5 separate regions of the Homo sapiens genome follow, and all the other regions are linked to region 1. Evidence: promoter capture Hi-C in human tissues and cell types (Jung and others, 2019). All regions are on one chromosome and are shown on one strand. The core of a region is centred on a gene start or on the middle of the fragment in contact, and the rest is flanking DNA. Distances in the headings are between cores, read along the strand shown. Region 1 holds the start of GAS1 (growth arrest specific 1). Region 2 overlaps DAPK1 (death associated protein kinase 1). Region 3 has its middle 31 kb from the start of DAPK1. Region 4 overlaps CTSL (cathepsin L). Region 5 overlaps DAPK1 (death associated protein kinase 1).

The links. Contacts are between HindIII fragments. The study calls those that stand out against the background at their distance.
Region 2: a contact is called between a fragment that was not itself captured here and the fragment with the promoter of GAS1 in region 1, in 1 of the 25 tissues and cell types used here (dorsolateral prefrontal cortex).
Region 3: a fragment that was not itself captured here is called in contact with the fragment with the promoter of GAS1 in region 1 in 1 of the 25 tissues and cell types used here (H1 embryonic stem cells).
Region 4: a contact is called between a fragment that was not itself captured here and the fragment with the promoter of GAS1 in region 1, in 1 of the 25 tissues and cell types used here (mesenchymal stem cells).
Region 5: a contact is called between a fragment that was not itself captured here and the fragment with the promoter of GAS1 in region 1, in 2 of the 25 tissues and cell types used here (H1 embryonic stem cells and lymphoblastoid cells).

What each region holds. Positions count from the first base shown.
Region 1 is chr9:86,946,192-86,948,891 of GRCh38, forward strand. GAS1 (growth arrest specific 1) reads right to left here and starts at 1,315. Exons shown (of 1, transcript NM_002048.3): 1 at 1-1,315. The coding sequence starts at 588. GAS1RR (GAS1 adjacent regulatory RNA) reads left to right here and starts at 2,507. Exons shown (of 7, transcript NR_049794.1): 1 at 2,507-2,700. RefSeq lists silencers at 306-375, 446-525. The HindIII fragment of the contact is 5,107 bases long and covers 1-2,633 here.
Region 2 is chr9:87,512,811-87,515,510 of GRCh38, forward strand. The region is part of intron 2 of DAPK1 (death associated protein kinase 1); the gene reads left to right. Among named protein-coding and RNA genes, the nearest start is that of DAPK1, 16 kb to the left of the region's middle. The HindIII fragment of the contact is 3,649 bases long and covers 1-2,700 here.
Region 3 is chr9:87,465,942-87,468,641 of GRCh38, forward strand. No RefSeq gene overlaps it. Among named protein-coding and RNA genes, the nearest start is that of DAPK1, 31 kb to the right of the region's middle. The HindIII fragment of the contact is 3,393 bases long and covers 1-2,700 here.
Region 4 is chr9:87,730,387-87,733,086 of GRCh38, forward strand. It overlaps CTSL (cathepsin L), which reads left to right. Exons shown (of 8, transcript NM_001912.5): 7 at 1-112; 8 at 622-1,083. The coding sequence ends at 721. Among named protein-coding and RNA genes, the nearest start is that of CTSL, 5.6 kb to the left of the region's middle. RefSeq lists a silencer at 722-2,221. The HindIII fragment of the contact is 6,197 bases long and covers 1-2,700 here.
Region 5 is chr9:87,663,571-87,666,411 of GRCh38, forward strand. The region is part of intron 18 of DAPK1 (death associated protein kinase 1); the gene reads left to right. Among named protein-coding and RNA genes, the nearest start is that of CTSL, 61 kb to the right of the region's middle. The HindIII fragment of the contact is 5,074 bases long and covers 1-2,841 here.

The DNA of each region.
Region 1 (2,700 bases), core at 65-2,564:
CCCGTTGAAGACTTTGCCGCAGTAGGTCAGGTAGCGGCTCAGCGCCAGGTTGCAGCGGCTGTCGCGGTCGCAGCGCCGCCGGGCCTCGGTGCAGCCCATGACCCCGCCCGCGCCGGGGCCGCCCGCGCCGCCGCCGCTCGTCCGGGGCAGGCACGGCTCAATGGCGCGCTTGGTGGACTTGCAGTTCTCGTCCTGCGCGCAGTCACAGTCCTCCAGGGCGGGCCCGCGGCGCGTGTGGTTGAGCTGAATGAGGGCCGAGATGCAGTGACTCGGGCAGCGCCAGCGCGACGAGAAAGAGGCGGCCGAGGCCGGGAAAGCGGCGGCGGCGGCCCCGGGCGCGTCGCCCCCGCCGTGCTGCGCCAGCACCGGCGCGCACGCCTCGGCGTACTGGTTGTAGGCGTAGCTGCACTCCGGCTCCCCCTGGCACTGCAGCAGCGCCTGCCAGCAGATGAGGCGGCGGCCGTGCGCCAGCCCCGATCCCCGCGGCGCCGAGCCCAGCAGCTGCAGCAGCGCCATCAGGCACAGCCAGGCGCCCGGCACTGTCCCCCCGCGGGCCTCGCCGCCGCCGCCCAGCAGCGCGGCCACCATCGCGGGCAGCGGCGGCCGCCGGGAGAGGAGGGGAAAGGAGACGAGGCGCGGGGAGCGGCGGACGCGGAGCCGGTGGAAAAGTTTGTCCAAGTCCTGCCCACTTCTTGCATGAGTGTCTTCATAAATCCATGCGCGCCGCTGGCTGATGCCCCGCTGGTGGCAGAAGGTCCCCTTTCGCTCTGGCTGCGGTGGCTTCCTGGAAATGAACAGCTGTCGAGATCTGGTCCCGCTCTCCCACCCGAGAGCCCTCCGCTCGGCCCCCGGTGGTGGCGGGAGAGGCTCACTGTCGCCCCGGGGGGGTGCGGGCCGCGGGGCCGTGGCGGGGCTGCAGGACCGCGCGGCGCGGCGGGTGCATTTTGCTCCGCGCCTGCAGATCCGTTGTGCGGCCGGCTGTCCCCGTGCCGGCTGCTCGCGCTGCGGCCGCGGCGGCTCCTTCCTCCTGGGCTCAGTGCCTCGCCGCCGCCACCGCCGCCGCGGTCTCTCGCATCGCGCCGCTTCCTGGCCCGGCGTCCGCGCGCTGCCCGCCTTCCCGCGGCCCGGCCGCCCCGCGTCCCCTCCCCCTCCGCCCGCGGCAACCCCGGCCTCCGCAGAGCTCCGGGGAGCTCTTTCCGGGAAGCGCGGGGAGAACAAGAAAGTCGGCGCTGCCGGAGAGCGGCTCCCTGGCTTCACTCGGCGGCAGCTTCTCGGGTGACCAAGAGCCCGGGGAGCGGATCCGCTGAGCCCGGCTGCAGACTCGTTAGCAGCGAGGCTTTAAATACAAAAGTGGGCCGGGAGCCCCCGCGTGGTGCCGCGGTGCCCCCTCATTATGCATGCATGGAAAAGCAAACAAACAAAAACATTAGCAACGCTCCTCCGGCTCGCCGAGCCCCGGCCCCGCGCGCTCCGAGCCTGCCCGCTTTCTCCTTTCTCCACTCTCTTTCGCCCTTTGCTCGGCCCCCTTTCCCGGCTTTTCGAGATGCTATTGGTCCTGCCTGTTGTTGTTGAAAGTTTTTTTTTTTTTTTTTACGAGCCGCTGGAGTGGGGTTGCGGAGTGGGGGAGGGCGGGAGGGTGGTGGGCAGCTCACATTCAGGCATTCAGGGCTTGAAAGGAACGGCTTAGGGAGCCTGACGGAGGCCCGGAGCTCCTCCTACTCTTAAGGAGGCTCGGATATGCAGCCCCAGCTCGCGCACAGAACCAGCGGGCAGGGCTTAGGGGCAGCTGTTTGCATCCGGCTCAGCCACGGGCCTTTTTTGTTTGTTTTTTTTTTCTTTTTTTTTTTTTTTGTAGTTTTATTAATTCTCGCTGGCCCCCATCTGTGCTTTCGACTGGATTCAGAACTCAGTTTATCTTCCAGGCTCCCTGTCTTTGGGTCTTGATCACCACAGAGGGGAAGGGGAGAATCCAGAGATAAAATGTGAGACTGAAACTGTTTTAAAGAAGCATACAAGAAAGAAGCACACACTTTATTAGGGAGATGTTGATGAGATGCTTACAACCCGCCCGCCACCCCCCAGCCCCAGCTAGGCCATCTGGCAGGTACCGCCCGTGCGCCAGGCATCGTTTTCAAATTGCAAGACCGAAATCCAATCAACCGAAATAATTTCTTAGGAAGATAAGCTTGCAACACGTGCAATAATGAAAAAATTTAACTAGCATTAAAAATATTCAGGAATGTCGAGCAATTACCACCTGGCCGCAGTCACAGGACAGAAGACGGAATAAATGGGCACGCACCAAAGGTTTATATTAAAGTGTAAGTTTCAGCCCCTCAGTATATTTAAGGGAGGCTGCTCTGCAGAGGAAACCTCTGCCTTCTCGGCGAGGGAGTTTCCGAGCTACCTTAACTGGGGCGCAACGCAGCCTTCCGCCACCAGAGGCAGCGGGCGTCTGCGGCCTGTCAAAAACTGGCGCTTTTTTCCTCCCCTTTCCGTGGAGAGACTATCAACTCCATCTGTCACAAAAATTAAGGCTAAATCTCCTCTCCAGAAGCAGAGGGAGCCGGGGCTCCGACGCGCTCAGCGTCGGGCTGTCTGCCTCTCCCTAGAGGCCAAGTGAATTTGAAATGGCAAAAGTCACAGCCGGAGGCCCAGCACTAGGAGATTCCTCCGGCTGCGGGAAATCTTCCTGTACCT
Region 2 (2,700 bases), core at 118-2,617, 570 kb after region 1:
TTGTATTTTTAGTAGACACAGGGTTTCACCATGTTGACCAGGCTGGTCTCGAACTCCTGACCTCAGAGGCTGGTGATCCACCCACCTCAGCCTCCCAAAGTGCTGGGATTACAGACATGAGCCACCATGCCTGGCCGAGAGGCTGCTTTCTTTTAAAGAATTATTTCTTGTTCTTTGGGCTTGTTGGGTGGGTATCTTTAGTTTGTAAAAGTAACATAACACTGACAAAATCTGAAAAGGAAAATACTTGGAAATTGGGTCTATAAGGTGAATTTAGGTAAAACATCAAGAGAACTAACAAATAGACAACAAATAAGCTATAAACAGGTACCATAAATAGGCTGTTAAACGAAACTGTCATTTGAACCGTAATATTTGCCCATCATTTATTCATTCCTCAAGGGCTAATTGAATATCTGAATGATCTTGCTGCAGTGTTGGGCAGGGCCCTCTATCTCAGCAAGCTTCTAGTCATGTAGGATAGACAGACTTTTGCACAACCAACAGTATTGGAAAGCCTAAATAGGAAGTGAGATGAAGCATGGAAAAATGTTTTTTGGAGTTCAGCCAAGGAGAGCGTTTTGACTTGGAGGTTTCATTCCTTCATTCAGATTCTTGTGGACGACGTAAAAATGTAAGCAGGTGGGTGCAAGTGTGGGTATGTATGTATGTCTCTACCCTTGCCTTCCTTGGAGAAAACTGGAAATAAGACATGAAAGAAATGGGGACAAGGAAACTAAGATTTGCTAGGAACTCTAGACCAGCAGCTGGAGGTAGGTATTGTAATTCACATTTGAAAACCGAGGTTCAGAAAGATGATTGGCCTTGAATAGTGTTTTAAAATGCTGGAAGCAGTAGTTGGACTCCCAAGCTGCTAAGCCATGTCTGGAAATTGGGTGGTGGGTGGTGCAGCTCATTTTGTGTCCTGTTCTACTGTCACTGTCTTGGAAGGGAAGTTTAAAGAAGTTTTAAATGTCTAGCACAGTGCTGGCTCATACGATGTGTTCAATGCCTGTTTTTCGCCTTGCTTCCTCTAAACCAGGTGTTCTCAACCTCGGCATTAGTGACAGCCTGTTCTGGATAGTTTTCTGTTGTGGGGGCTGTCTTGTGCATTGTATTTTAGGATAGGATATTTATAATAGGATGTTTAGCAGCATCCATGGACTCTACCCACTGGATGCCAGTAACAGCCACCTCCTCACACTCTTTATGACAGCCAAAAATGTCTCCAGACATTGCTAAATGTGTGAGGGGGCGCAAAATTCCCCCACCCTCTGTAGAGAACCACAGGACTACAAGATCAAGAGAGATCAGTCTTGACTGATGTGCTTAGGAGGCTAGAGCTGGTGTAGGGAAGGAGGAGCCTGCACCTAGTGGGCAAAGAAAACACCCCTGTGGAATGAGATGAGAGAAGATATTGACCTTGGGTGTCCAGAGCTGGTGAGGGGAGAGAAAAGGCTGCCAGATGGTCTGAGCGTGAGGTCTAGGGCAGTTGCTGTTGTACTTTGATTTGTATGGACTGTCCCAGGAGTGCGTAGTTTCCTGTGTCCCAGAGGTCTGGGCTGAGACAGACAATGGGTATGACCTGGAGAACCTGCTGGTGAGGCTTGTGGGTGTCAGAGCCCTGTTGAATCACTTTTCCCTCTCCATTCAAATAGCCACTGCAATTCCATACCTATTTGTATAATTACTTTCAAATGTCATTCTCTTCCTTAAGACTGGAAGCTCCCATGATCTAGGTCTGTGACTTGTTTTCTGGTTATTGAATTGAGCACAAGAACCAGCCCCAAATTGAACATTTAAGTGAGTGACATGAATGAATGATGGAAGGAGGGTTCGCATTAATTGTTGGATTGAACAAAGCCCGACACGATTAAATGTAACAGATACAAAGATGAAGCCAGACAATTAAGTTGGAGAGAAAAAGCAATTGCTCAAATTCAGCAGCAGGGAGACTTGTCATGACAGTGTCCTTTTGGAGAAGAGTCTGAGAGCTTTGATAATTACAAATGTCTATGGAACCCATATCCTCGTGACTGCATTAAGAAGAAAATACAGCTTTTGTCTATACCATAGAAATTGAATGTCTGCAATGGGAGTTGCTGGTTTCTCTGTTTTCTCTGTTTTTGCTGAGGTCATTCTGCATCTGGGACATGAGAGTGTTCTGTTCTGGGAGAGACACTGACAAACTTGGGGGAGTCCAAAGAAGGCAAAAGCTGGAGAACCCGAGTATCTCATGAATAATGTATTTTACTTAGCTATGGAGTCAAGCACCATGTGCATCTTTTTGTAAATATTACTGCATGTAATTCCTCAAACTAGCCTCTTATGGGGATCCTCTATTTCAGAGCTTGGCAGACATTTTATGTAAAGATAGTAAATATGGTAAGCTTCGTGGGCCACATGGTTTCTGTTGCAACAACTCAACTCTGTTTTAACTCAAAAGCAGCCACAGACATTATGTGTCCAAAAGGGTGTGGCTGTGTTCTAATAAAAACAGGCAATGGTCTGGATTTACCCTGTGGGCCATGATTTGCTAAGCCCTGCTCTGTTTTATTGATGAATAAACAAAGGCTTAAAGAGATTAAATAATTTAATATGCTGAAATGAGTAAGTGGCAGAACTGAAATTGAGCTCTGAGCCTCTCTGGCTCTGAAGCCCATGAAAACACACATAGATGGTCTTTTGGATGGGGATAGG
Region 3 (2,700 bases), core at 186-2,685, 520 kb after region 1:
GATGCAAATCAGCTCATGCAAATCACACCTTCAAGACCTGCCCCCAGCTCACTGGACGGGTCTAGACCAGTGCGAATGAGCTCAAATAAGGATCTTGGCTACATGCATTTCCCTTGTCATTTTATACTCCAAAGCAAAAACCTGTTTTGGAAGAATGAAACCAGTTTGCATGGTGCTAAAAAAAGTTTAACACCTGGCTGCCCTAAAAATTTTCAGGTCAAGTTCACCGTGAAGGGAATGCAAAATGCAACACATAAACATAGCTCTGAAAACCAACGAAGACACAAAAACCAAACAATGAAAATATTGTCCCTTCCTCTGGTTTAAATATGTCATTTCCATAAGACCAGATCAAGTCGCTGTTGGACAACTTTTTAAAAGATAGCAACAGTTTAAGCTTAATTTCATTTTAATTTTTCAAAGTGAACTTTAAAAAACACCTTATGTGACTTCCATGAATACACTGAAACACCGTGTTACAGAGCAGCTAAAATAGGAGACCTGGCTCCATTTCGATAATAAATGGTTGGGCTCACTAATGCGCTCAGATCGATGTCAAGCATGGGGGATTATCTACATAAACACACAAACTTTAGCACCTCTAAATTTGACTACTCAGACATAAATGTGACTGGTCTAAGAGAAGATCAATGTTTATAGCCTTAAAGTCACTCAATATTTAATTTAAATGCAAGCTGGTTTATGCCTGAAGCCAATGCCTGACATTTTAGATTTTTTTTTTTTTTTCTTTTTTTTGAGACGGAGTCTGGCTCTGTCATGCAGTGGCATGATCTCGGCTCACTGCAACCTCTGCCTTCTGAGTTCAAGCAGTTCTCCTGCCTCAGCCTCCCTAGTAGCTGGGATTACAGGCGTGTGCCGCCACACCCGGCTAATTTTTGTATTTTTAGTAGAGATGGGTTTTTACCATGTTGGCCAAGATAGTCTCAAATTCCTGACCTCGAGTGATCCGCCTACCTTGGCCTCCCAAAGTGCTGGGATTACAGGCAGTAGCCACCGTGCCCAGCCGGGATTTTTTTTTTCTTTTCTATTCCTAACAGCCCAAACCCAGCAAAAAGCATCATGCATTTGCACTCAGGTGCTGAGTAGGTTTCAGGACCTCAACAGGCCCACCTGACCTGGTCCAGGAATGACAGTAGTCAGGCCCCCCTGCCGTACATTTGGCCTAGTCTTCAAAAGCCTGCTCACTGGCCACACCAATTTCCTAAGGGTTTTTCTAAACAAAAATTTCAGATAAACCTAGATCCAACTTCTATATTGTTTCTTTAATTGGCTTTTGTTTTACGATCTTTATTTCAAATGTAATGCACTCTTGGGAAAGAAAAGTCAGAAAACAGAGATGAGCAGAAATGTCAGAGGCATTCGAACCACAGCAACTCCATCTTGACTAGGGACTGGGTAAAAGGAGGCTGAAACCTACTGGGCTGCATTTCCAGGAGGTTAGGCCTTCTTAGTCATAGGATGAGATAGAAGATCAGCATAAGATACAGGTCACAAACACCTTGCTGATAAAACAGGTTGCAGTAAAGAAGCAGGCCAAAAGGCCGACGTGGTGGCTCATGCCTGGAATCCCAGCGCTTTGGGAGTCTGAGGCAAGAGAATCACTGAGGTTGGGAGTTCGAGACCAGCCTGGCCAATATGGTGAAACCCAGTCTCTACTAAAAATACAAAAATTAACCTGGCATGGTGGCACACATCTGTAATCCCAGCTACTTGGGAGGCTGAGGCACAAGAATCGCTTGAACCTGGAAGGTGGAGGTTGCAGTGAGCCAAGATTGTCCCACTGTACTCCAACCTGGGGGACGGAGCGAGACTTGGTCTCAAAAAAAAAAAAAAAAAAAAAAAAAAAAGAAGCAGGCCAAAACCCACCAAAACCAACATGGCCACAAAAGTGACTTCTGGTCATTCTCACTGCTCATTAGATGTTAATTATAATGCATTAGGATGCTAAAAGACACTCCCACCAGCACCATGGCAGTTTACAAATGGTCTATATGGTCTAAAAAGGGGAGGAACCCTCAGTTCCAGAACTGCCCAATCCTTCCCTGGAAAACTCATGAGTAATCCATTCCTTGTTTAGCATATGATCAAGAAGCAACTCTGAGTATACTCATTTGAGCACCCCATGCTTCTGCTCTGCTTATGAAGTAGCCATTCTTTTCCTTTACTTTCTTAATAAACTTACTTTGGCTTTGCTCTCTGGAGTCACCCCAAATTCTTTCTTGTGTGAAGTCCGAGAACACTCTCTTGGGGTCTGGATTGGGACCCCTTTCCAGTAACAGAATGAATGTAAAGAATATTCATAATAGGCCAGGCGCGGTGGCTCACGCCTGTAATCCCAGCACTTTGGGAGGTCGAGGTGGGTGGATCACAAGGTCAGGAGATTGAGATCATCCTGGCTAACACGGTGAAACCCCGTCTCTACTAAAAATACAAAAAATTAGCCGGGCGCGGTGGCAGTCACCTGTAGTCCCAGCTACTCAGGAGGCTGAGGCAGGAGAATGGCCTGAACCCGGGAGGCGGAGCTTGCAGTGAGCCAAGATTGCACCATTGCACTCCAGCCTGGGCGACAGAGCAAGACTCCATCTCAAAAAAAAAAAAAAAAAGAATATTCATCATCACTTCTTGTGGGATGGAAAATGTGTCCATTCCTTCAAGAGTCTTCCTTCTGGCACCCCCTAC
Region 4 (2,700 bases), core at 174-2,673, 780 kb after region 1:
ATTTTGAGCCAGACTGTAGCAGTGAAGACATGGATCATGGTGTGCTGGTGGTTGGCTACGGATTTGAAAGCACAGAATCAGATAACAATAAATATTGGCTGGTGAAGAACAGGTATAAATTGCCAGAAATACTTACATTTGAAATTCAAAAGAGAATACTTATTTGCAAACAGTGTTTGGATACAGTTCCACATGCCCTTAGGCATACTTCTGAAATCCCCAGAAGTCTAAGTTGAACATATAATATTAATGTTTGATTATAAAAGTAAGAAACTGTCACAAATATCTTGGGAGTATGAATATAGTATTTGTTCCATTGTATAAAGGTGTATCTAAATCTGAACAGTTTTTAAATTCTGAGGCATATCTGGCTGCAAAGACATCCTATTGTTTTCCTGTCTCTGATCTGTAGTTCTGTGAAAGGTCACAGTTTGGAGGCTGGGATGGAAATTATGTCCAGGTTATGTCAAGAATTTTTTAAGGATAAACAGGAACATTGCCTGTCCTGATTCTTTCTGTTAAGTCTATGGCCTCTGGCACAGTGTTTAAGTTGGGTGTTCCTGTTAATAACCCTTTGGGCTTTATTCTTTCTCTGAAATGGAAAACCTGCTCTTTTTTCAGCTGGGGTGAAGAATGGGGCATGGGTGGCTACGTAAAGATGGCCAAAGACCGGAGAAACCATTGTGGAATTGCCTCAGCAGCCAGCTACCCCACTGTGTGAGCTGGTGGACGGTGATGAGGAAGGACTTGACTGGGGATGGCGCATGCATGGGAGGAATTCATCTTCAGTCTACCAGCCCCCGCTGTGTCGGATACACACTCGAATCATTGAAGATCCGAGTGTGATTTGAATTCTGTGATATTTTCACACTGGTAAATGTTACCTCTATTTTAATTACTGCTATAAATAGGTTTATATTATTGATTCACTTACTGACTTTGCATTTTCGTTTTTAAAAGGATGTATAAATTTTTACCTGTTTAAATAAAATTTAATTTCAAATGTAGTGGTGGGGCTTCTTTCTATTTTTGATGCACTGAATTTTTGTGTAATAAAGAACATAATTGGGCTCTAAGCCATAACTGCTGTGCCAGTGGCTCACTAGGAGGAAGAGTGGGTGGCCTTCTGGGTCTTCTAGTCACAGATGTACAGATCTCATGTCAGCTGCCCAGTGGCTATGTCTTAACCAATCCTTGATTGCAGCAAAATTTGAAAATGATCTATGAGGACAAAGGAAAATTGTTTGAATAAAGAAAAATATTCACTTTTTAGAAAAGTGAACATACATATATATAATTTTAATACTAGAAAAGGACTTTAGTGATCGTGTTTATTTCACCCAAAGTGGTTGCATCTCAGTCAAGTTACAGGGCAAAGGTCTCAGCCTGTTTCTGGAGCATCTTCGCCCACTGCTGGTGAAGGCCCTGTGGACACTTTGCAGTCAAGGTGGGTTAAGAACTAGTGCATTGCCAAGGCTGTTTGTTTTTGGGTCCTCAAGGGATGAGGAATAAACTTCAGGGTTTGAGGCTGGGGTTCAGAAGTGGTGCTCTGGCCTCAGAAAATAAAAGACAAGTGAGAGGCTAGAAATGACAATCTGTTGCCCTATTTAGAGCAAGCTACCTGAAAATACCTGATTTATTTTTTTTTAAATAGAAAAACTTCCCACATCGCACTAGCTAAACAGCCCATACTTCCATCACCTGTGTGTTTTCAGAAGTCTCTTGTTCCAACTGAAGGAAATATAAAGAACAGATGAGAATGTCCAATGAATAGACTCCATATCACAGAGGAGGGTAACCAGGTGTACAATGGAGTCTCAGCTTACAAAGCCCCCGGGAGGTTCTGTCCAAGTCCATCTCGATTGGACCACATGCCTTGCTGGACTCTCATGTGCCCTTCCCGAGTAGTTGCTAAAATTTCAAACTTTTTGACCTAAAATGGCAAATGTGGCATCTGTGAAATTCTTTGGGTATTGTAATAAAAGTCACCAGGGGTAGCAAGATTTGGGGAGGTTCCCAGGCTAAATCCCTCGTGCAGGTTGGGGCTTAGATTTGATAAACTGGAATTTATATACAACACCCACTACATGCTGGTCATCACCACTGTGGAAGAGACAGACCCTGACCTCAAGGAGCTGAACAGTTAGGGAGAGTGAGGTTAGCAGGGAGGGCTTCCAGGAAGAAGTTAAAGCAGATGGCTAGAGCAGCTAGTCAATAAGGGAAGATGAAGAGGTGAGCATCTTAGCAGAGACTAGCACATCAGCAACCCTGAGAAAAGACCCTGTGGTTACAGACCCAGTAAAAGTCACTGGGTCCAGGTGTTGGGAGATGAAGCTGGTCAAGAGGTAGATTTTCAGGATAAAGGAGCCACTGGGAGTGCAGTGAACAGACTGTTTTGGTTCTGTTACTGTAAAACAAACCACCCAGAAACCCAATGGCTGGGAAGGAACATCTTTCACATGATTCTGCCTGGACTTGGCTGTGTGGTTTTCACGTGGAGGTCTATATCTGTGCTTGAGACATCTGCAGGTTTGAGTGAACTGGACATCTGCAAAGGCTCACTCACATGGCTGGCTGCAGATGCTGGTGCTGGCTGGACGTTCAACTTGGGCTATTGACCAGAGCACCTGCCCGGGGCCTCCCCATGGCTTGGGCTTCCCACAGCATTGATACTGGGGGAAATACATATATAGTGCAATT
Region 5 (2,841 bases), core at 75-2,574, 720 kb after region 1:
GGGCTGAGAAAGTCCCCGCGTCCTGCTTCTCCCTAGGCCTCTGCTTCCTGCTGGTCCATCTTCTCCCTCTCCATCCCCCTGGCCCTCTCTGGCCCCCAGACTTGCAGCTGTCCAACACTGAGGCCCATGCTCAGGTCTCTGGTCCCTGCTTGCCCCTGAGTGCCAGCCTCACACAGCACCTTCAGAGGCCCTCGGCCCCCCCACACCAGGGTCCCTCCCTCCAGTTCTGTGCTTCCTCCTCCCCAGTGTTCAGCCTCTGCAAAGGGCTTCCGCATCTGTCTGTCACTCTGCCCAGGATCATGGAAACCCTTCTTACTCTCTCCTCACCTATTTGCATCTAGCCGGCAGCCTACTAAGTCTCCTCCCACTTCTCCATGACCACGAAGCACCCGCCTCTCCAGCCCCCACCTGGTTAAGGGCGTCACCCTTAACCTTAGTCTCCTCCAGACCAGTCGGACTCTTCACCCACCCCTGCACTGTAGCCTCCTGCCCCTTGGGACCAGTCCATCCCAGCCCCACGTTTATCTTTCTAGAAATGCCAGCCACTCAGTGGGCTCCACTTTCACCTCCACCTGGGGCTCCTCTGCCTTCAGGATGTGAACTCTGCAGCCTCTGCCCAGCCTCCCCTTCCCCTCTTCTCCCCTTCAGTTGTGGCTGGGTCCTGGGAAGCCCCTGCCGGCTCCCCCATCATGGAGTTGTCACCTGCTGTTCTTTCACCCTGGAGCTCCCCTTTCCCCCTTCACCCCCTGCGCATAGTGTGCCCACAGCATCAGCACACACAGGCACACATCTCTCTGCCCACTTCTGCCCTGAGGGTACCTGATGGCGCTCTGCCTTCAGAGAGAGACTTGGAATGCCCGCTACGGGCATGTGGGCACACAGCCCATAACATTCGGGGAAGACTCCGTGGCACCCACTCCTCCTCATCCATCAACATTCACCTCCAGCCCAGGAAACCTCCTCTGTTCCAGCCTCTCCGGTGTGTGTGATTTGCCCCTGTGGGCTGGTAGTCCCTTCGCCTTCCTTGCTCTATTGGAATCGTATCCGGATTTCTCCTAGCAGGAGTGAGCCCTTGGGCAGGAATCACTGGGAATTCATTGCTGCCTCCTAAGTGGGCTCCCTGCTTCCACCCTTACCTGTCCACAGCCTGGTCCCCACGCAGCCGCCTGGTCAGACGTAAGTGAGATCTCATCCTCCTTGCTCAGATGCTCTAGCAACTTCTCATGGGAATCAGAGCCCTTCAAATGGGGGCTTCCCCAAGGATCTGCCCCTGACATTGCCTCCCTGACCCCCATCTCCTGTTCCGCCTCCTCCCGTCTCCCTCCACATCAGCCCCATGAGCTTCCTTGATGTTCTTCAAAAGTGCTGGCCATCCACCGCCCGGGGGCCTTTGCACTTGCTATTCTTGGGCCTGAGTGGCTCTTCCCCAGGTATCCATGTGATTTGGTCTCTCACCTTCTGCAGGTTTTGACTCGAGCTTCACCTTCTCAGGGAGGCCTTTCTGGACCACCCTATTTTAAATCCTATCCCTCCCCCACCCCCAGGACTGCCCCTCATCTCCCCTGCCCCATTTTTCTTCATAGCACCTATCACCACCTGACCTACTGTATTTTACTCACCTATTTGTTTCTTGTTGGCTCTCCCCACTAGATTCTGGATCCCATGAAAATAGGGACTTTTGTTGGTTTTATTCACTGCTGTATCCATAGCCCTGTGCATAATACGCACTCAGTAAATACCTGCTAGATGAAAGTATGAAGGAAGGAAGGAAAAAATGAATGGCACCATAGTCCAGGCAGGACATGGAGTGTTTGTTGACCGAGTGCTAAGTAGATGAGCCCTTATAATTCTGTAGGTTAACAAAAAATCCATATTTTCCCCAACACTATCTAAAGATGTTTAAATGACTGTGCACATTCTTTCAGATCATCTTTTCACTGGGGATACACAAATAGGTTTCCCTGTCAATGCTTGCCCCAGTTGAAACCCCATCTGTTCCTTTGCGAAGCATATTACACGTGTCACTAGAAGTCATGACTGTGAGCATTTCCCCAGACGTCAATAAGCAGCATGTCTGTGAAGGGCAGGCTCCTAAAACTGGCTGGCCTGTGGGGCTCCGGCTTCTTGAACACAATAAGTGAAGTGGCCTTTCACCTTTCCATGGATTTCTTTCTATGTCATGGGGCCAACTTGGGAATCACTGCCCACAGTCTAGAATGTAGTGTTGTGGGCTGCTGGTGCACAAGAGACACCGTGATTTCTGGACCCAACTCACCCTTCTGCAGCCACTTGGTCCCCAGGGCTCACGTTGAGATGATGGACAGCTGAGTGCTGAGACACTTGGCCATCTTTCTATATCTTTTCAATGCATGCACTTCATTGAGTCCATGAGCCCTGTTGGTAAGGAGGAGGGCAGCAAGTGTAAGTGTTGCTTTTGCAGCCTCCGTCGGGGTGTCCAGTAGAGCCAAGACCAAAATGCAGAGATCTGACTTCTGCCCCTTTCCCTCTCAGACAGAAGGCCAGGTAGTTAGGGCAATTCTCAGCTCTTCTGTGAATAATTTCCAACACTGCTTGCTTCTTCTGTGCCTGGCACTGTGCTGGTTCTTTCCATTTGGTTTTCTCTCACCTGCTCAAGAACCTGTGCAGGGAGGGTGCCATTTTCCATCTTGCAGATGAGGAAACCCAGGCTTGGGAAGGCTGAGTGACCCACCACATAGCCGGTGAGGGGTGGGTTCAGGACTTCAAACTGGGTCTTCTCCCAACTTCAAACTGTCTCCTGCACTGCCAGGCATTTCTGTTGAAAGTCTGAATAGTGTCCTTTAGAGCAACATGTTTTGCAAG